2 separate regions of the Homo sapiens genome follow, and region 1 is linked to region 2. The links are contacts of gene promoters, found by promoter capture Hi-C in human tissues and cell types (Jung and others, 2019). All regions are on one chromosome and are shown on one strand. Each heading gives the region's core, a stretch centred on a gene start or on the middle of the fragment in contact. The rest is flanking DNA. Distances are from core to core; before and after follow the strand shown. Region 1 has its middle 45 kb from the start of DIRAS2. Region 2 holds the start of DIRAS2 (DIRAS family GTPase 2).

The links. Contacts are between HindIII fragments. The study calls those that stand out against the background at their distance.
Region 1: a fragment that was not itself captured here is called in contact with the fragment with the promoter of DIRAS2 in region 2 in 2 of the 25 tissues and cell types used here (mesenchymal stem cells and spleen).

What each region holds. Positions count from the first base shown.
Region 1 is chr9:90,686,047-90,688,915 of GRCh38, reverse strand. No RefSeq gene overlaps it. Among named protein-coding and RNA genes, the nearest start is that of DIRAS2, 45 kb to the right of the region's middle. The HindIII fragment of the contact is 3,580 bases long and covers 1-2,869 here.
Region 2 is chr9:90,641,570-90,644,828 of GRCh38, reverse strand. It overlaps DIRAS2 (DIRAS family GTPase 2), which reads left to right and starts at 2,005. Exons shown (of 2, transcript NM_017594.5): 1 at 2,005-2,077. RefSeq lists a silencer at 2,017-2,066. The HindIII fragment of the contact is 18,185 bases long and covers 256-3,259 here.

The DNA of each region.
Region 1 (2,869 bases), core at 349-2,848, 44 kb before region 2:
AAGTCTATTAGGTCCTCTTGGTGCAGAGCTGAGTTCAATTCCTGGATATCCTTGGTAACTTTCTGTCTCGTTGATCGGTCTCATGTTGACAGTGGGGTGTTAAAGTCTCCCATTATTATTGTGTGGGAGTCTAAGTCTCTTTGTAGGTCTCTAAGGACTAGCTTTATGAATCTGGGTGCTCCTGTATTGGGTGCATATATATTTAGGATAGTTAGTTCTTCTTGTTGAATTGATCCCTTTACCATTATGTAATGGCCTTGTCTCTTTTGATCTTTGTTGGTTTAAAGTCTGTTTTATCTGAGACTAGGATTGCAACCCCTTCCTTTTTTTGTTTTCCGTTTGCTTGGTAGATCTTCCTCTGTCCCTTTATTTTGAGCCTATGTGTGTCTCTGCATGTAAGATGGGTTTCCTGAATACAGCACACAGATGGGTCTTGACTCTTTATCCAATTTGCTAGTCTGTGCCTTTTAATTGGAGCATTTAGCCCATTTACATTTAAGGTTAGTATTGTTATGTGTGAATTTGATCCTGTCATTATGATGTTAGCTGGTTATTTTGCTCGTTAATTGATGCAGCTTCTTCCTAGCCTTGATGGTCTTTACTATTTGGCATGTTTTTGCAGTGGCTTGTACCGATTTTTCCTTTCCATGTTTAGTGCTTCCTTCAGGAGCTCTTTTAGGGCAGGCCTGGTGGTGACAAAATCTCTCAGCATTTGCTTGTCTGTAAAGTATTTTATTTCTCCTTCACTTATGAAGCTTTGTTTGGCTGGATATGAAATTCTGGGTTGAAAACTCTTTTCTTTAAGAATGTTGAATATTGGCCCCCACTCTCTTCTGGCTTGTAGAGTTTCTGCTGAGACATCAGCTGTTAGTCTGATGGGCTTCCCTTTGTGGGTAACTTGACCTTTCTCTCTGGCTGCCCTTAACATTTTTTCCTTCATTTCAACTTTGGTGAATCTGACAATTATGTGTCTTGGAGTTGCTCTTCTCGAGGAGTATCTTTGTGGCGTTCTCTGTATTTCCTGAATTTGAATGTTGGCCTGCCTTGCTAGATTGGGGAAGTTCTCCTGGATAATATCCTGCAGAGTATTTTCCAACTTGGTTCCATTCTCCCCGTCACTTTCAGGTACACCAATTAGACATAGATTTGGTCTTTTCACAGAGTCCCATATTTCTTGGAGGCTTTGTTCATTTCTTTTTATTCTTTTTTCTCTAAACTTCTCTTCATGCTTCATTTCATTCATTTCATCTTCCATCGCTGATACCCTTTCTTCCAGTTGATTGCATCAGTTACTGAGGCTTGTGCATTCGTCACGTAGTTCTCGTGCAGTGGTTTTCAGCTCCATCAGGTCCTTTAAGGACTTCTCTGCATCGGTTATTCTAGTTATCCATTCATCTAATTTTTTTTCAAAGTTCTTAACTTCTTTGCCATTGGTTCGAACTTCCTCCTTTAGCTTGGAGTAATTTGATCTTCTGAAGCCTTCTTCTCTCAACTCATCAAAGTCATTCTCCATCCAGCTTTGTTCCGTTGCTGGTGAGGAGCTGCGTTCCTTTGGAGGAGGAGAGGTGCTCTGATTTTTAGAGTTTCTGGTTTTTCTGCTCTGTTTTTTCCCCATCTTTGTGGCTTTATCTACCTTTGGTCTTTGATGATGGTGACGTACAGATGGGTTTTTGGTATGGATGTCCTTTCTGTTTGTTAGTTTTCCTTCTAACAGTCAGGACCCTCAGCTGCAGGTCTGTTGGAATTTACTGGAGGTCCACTCCAGACCCTGTTTGCCTGAGTGTCAGCAGCGGTGGCTGCAGAACAGTGGATATTAGTGAACCACAAATGCTGCTGCTTGATCCTTCCTCTGGAAGTTTTGTGTCAGAGGAGTACCCAGCCATGTGAGGTGTCAGTCTACCCCTACTTGGGGGTGCCTCCCAGTTAGGCAACTTGGGGGTCAGGGGCCCACTTGAGGAGGCAGTCTGCCCATTCTCAGATCTCAAGCTGCGTGCTGGGAGAACCACTACTCTCTTCAAAGCTGTCAGACAGGGACATTTAAGTTTGCAGAGGTTATTTCTGTCTTTTGTTTGTCTGTGCCCTGCCCCCAGAGGTGGAGCCTACAGAGGCAGGCAGGCCTCCTTGAGCTGTGGTGGACTCCACCCAGTTCAAGCTTCCTGGCCACTCTGTTTAGCTACTGAAGCCTGGGCAATGGTGGGCGCCACTCCCCCAGCTTCGCTGCCACCTTGCAGTTTGACCTCAGACTGCTGTGCTAGCAATGAGTGAGGCTTTGTGGGCGTAGGACCCTCCGAGCCAGGTGCTGGATATAATCTCCTGGTGTGCCATTTGTGAAGCCCATTGGAAAAGCACAGTATTAGGGTGGGAGTGACCCTATTTTCCAGGTGCCATCTATCACCCCTTTCTTTGACTAGGAAAGGGAATTCCCTGACCCTTTGCACTTCCCAGGTAAGGCAATGCCTCGCCCTGCTTCGGCTCACGCACGGTGCGCTGTACCCACTGTCCTGTACCCACTGTCCGGCATTCCCCAGTGAGATGAACCCGGTACCTCAGTTGGAAATGCAGAAATCACCCATCTTCTGCATCACTCACACTGGGAGCTGTAGACTGGAGCTGTTCCTATTTGGACATCTTGGCTCCATCCCCACCAAATATATTTATTTTTAACTCAGGGAAAAAAACATTTTTCTTAAGCTTAAACATGATGTATACTGAAGCAGAATTTGATAACCTATTTGGATTCCCCCAGTGGTTTTAAATCTGAGATTGGTCTCCCCTCATTCTTAGTCAAAAGTGTCTATGATGTATAATATCTTTTTTTAATTGCATTTTCCTGGTTGCAAGAAGAAAAGGAGAAACCAGGAGGTGATCT
Region 2 (3,259 bases), core at 756-3,255:
CAACTTCACATAAACACGTTGAAATATATGGATGTTTGCATCCCATCCACGGAGGTCCTGTGCCAGTTGTGGCATGAGCTGGACTGGAAATTGGACCTTGTTTTAAAATGTATTTATAGCTCCCCTGCTGATTCTAATGTGCAGGCAGATGTCAGGAGCCCCTAGCCTAGAAGCAAATGGGTCAGGCTCTTAGAAGGATGTAAGTTAAGGGGAAGTTAAAAGAGGAATTTGGGAGCAATCTGCTCCTTCTGGCTGATGAAAGTCTAGGGATTGTGGGGAGTGCCAAAGGGGCCAGAGACATCATATTAAGTGAGTTGCTCCTTGTTTAAATGAGGCCTTTGGGCCTCTGCTTCACATTCTCAGAACAAATAATGATGGCATGTGGCAAAAGGCAGGCTTCTTCTGCATTGTGGGATATTCAGCATAGAACTGGCTCTCTTTATCAGCTCCTGATTTGCTCTCCCTGCTTCCATACTAGCACTGGATTTTTGCTTATTTAATCTTTTTACCCTCCTTTGTTTAGTTCTTAAATTCCATTTTGTCATTTAACCTGATAACCTACATTTTGGTTGTCATGGAAAACAACATCCTGACTTATAAAACTGGAAGGTTGTTTCAGGACCCAGAAACTGCATCAGGCAGTGCTCAGAATCCACTGTCATCATATTTGGAGCCTCCTCTGGGATGGGTTTCTGAGTGGCCATATATTCCTTTGCAATGAAGAGGAGACTGTGGAGGACAGGGTGACCACTCTGCTTTTAGACATCATTAGTGTAGGGGCAGGTTTGTTGAAGTAGCCTTAAATGACTTTAGTAAAAAGAGTGTATTTTTATTTTTATATTCCAATGGCTGTAGGATCAAGGCCAGAATTAGGATGAACTGGGGAATAAAATAAGTTTTCTTGACTATAAGTTGTAAAATGCGTAGTTTTTAAGTATGATTTTTAAAAAGCATATTTCCTGTGAATAGCAGGGCAGAATTTTACTATGGAAATGAACTTCAAAGGTTAACATGTTTTAATTATTTAGAAAGTGAAGACGGGATTAAAACAGATAAATAGGATTCTACAACAAAAATCAAATGTAAAGAACTACAGAATATTAATTTTGCTCAAGTCTTTTAGCATATTTGGTATTACAAAAGAATGAGTAATATAACCAAGAGAAGAAATCTTCCTTCAGTCTGTAGTTTAAACTTAACATGGATCAATGTTATGCTCAAGCACTTTTAAAAATGCCTGCACAGAATTGTTAGCCATTAATATTTTTTCTTGCTGATTCACCTGTTTTTTAATCAACGCGTCTTTGACAAAATTGTTTATCAATGTCAGGAAATAAACGTGGTCATTTGCTTGAAATGCTAATGTGAAACCACTCAGTGAAAAAGCAATTCTAATCCAAGCTTGCCAATGGCGGTGTTGTCATAGGATCCTATTAAATTAGAATATATTAATCTACACTGTGTGGTTGGCTATGGTATGGGGCAGGGCATTTCGTCTGCCTTTAAATGAGTCGGTTTTTAAAAGTTAAAATCTGGAAATGGAAAAAAAAAGTCTATATGGTTAGTAGCGATTATAGTTCGCAATGCGAACAAAAGAATCTGGTTCCCTTTCAATGGAATTATTTTAATTCATTAAATTATCAGAAAATTCCAGTCCTCGCCATCTATTCCAAGAGCATGCAGTAGGTGGCACCTAAAAGCTCTTTGGAGGCGAACAGGCGCCATTTAAGCAGGAGCAGCAGCCTCTGCAGCAGTTGGCACATCTGAGAAGGCAGAGATTGAAGAGAGTAGGAGGAGCGTGCAGCGGCGGTGACAGTGCCAGGCCGGAGCGGCTCAGGCCAGCGCAGGTGCAGGGGCTGCGAGCGGGTGGAGCGCGAGGGCGCTGGGCGCAGGGAGCACGGCCGGTGGGCGGTGCAGGGCGCACGGCGGGCGAGCAGCTGACAGCATCGTCACGGCGGCGGGAGGGAGTGCGCTGCGCCTGCCTCCGGGAGGAGCCGCATCCACACACCCTGCGCTGCCCTGTCCTGCGCGAGTGGAGCTCTGAAGAAGCTCTGAGCGGAGTTGTGTTCTTCCCCAGGTAACCGATTTCCCCCTTCTGCCGTGGCTTCGCTGCGTCCGCATTGGGGCACGGGCGGCTTTGGCATGATTGTTTGCCAGCCCCTGGAAAGGGATTACCGCTCTCAGGGAGGGCGAGTCAGCGTGTACTGGAGTTGGTAAGAGGGGAAGAAATCTGCATTTCTGTATCCTTGTTAGGGAGGGTGAGCATCATGCTGTCCTTGTCTAAAACATGTTCTTTTTTAAAAATCTGTATCTTACGTATTATTAGGGATTCCTTCCAAAACAGGATTTACCGTTTTGGAAAATTCTACTGTGCAGGTGTTTCTGTTAATGTGGAAGTTTAATGGATTTAGGAAAAGAGTAAGAAGATGTGGTCTAAAGTGAGAAAAAAGCCAAGCACGCTAGGGACTGCCGTTTGGTTCGGCATGCTTTCATCCTCGACTCCTTCACTTCATGCGCTTGGCCGAGACCTGTCTAAATCTTTTGTTTGTCTTCTTAAAGAATGTGTTTCATGATATCTACATGTGCTCCTTTCCGCTTCCTTGTTGTAAGAGCAGAAGATGGGCAAGGGGCTGCATCCAGTCCTTAGTTGTAAGACTGTGGTTTCCCATCAGATGACAATGACTGCTGACAGCTCCCAGGCTCGCCTGAAAAGCAGTGCTGGCTTCTGGCGTTGTGGGAACCTGCCTCTCTCCTTCTCTCTTGAAAAATGCTGTTTTTCCTCTTTAAAACTCCAATTCACATTCTATGTGGGTTTGGGAGACTTTTAAACTAGAAGCTCTGTGAATCATCTGTTACATCCATTGAATGCTGGAATACAACATTGTGGTGGAATTCAGTTTCTTCCTACTGTGCAGAGACACAGCTTGCCTTCCCTAGGAATTTATTTTACATATTTGCCCTCGTTATCTTTTAAATGGATCCCTTCAGATGTGAGAAGCTAGTCCAGCATATCAGAACTTTTCTGCTTCAAACTAAAAATTTTCAAAAATATTATTTTTGAGGAAGATTTTCCAGGTAACGCTAAAAGTCTGGAGCATTTTACATTTCAAATCAGTCACAATGTGCTCCATTTCCAGTGACATTTGGATTTGAGGAGGTGGAGGGGGAGGGAGAGAAAAGGGGAGGATAAAATTAGAATAAATTTAACAAATTTGTAGGGGAATCATACTTTTTTTTCTTCTTGGTTGTTGTCTGAAAT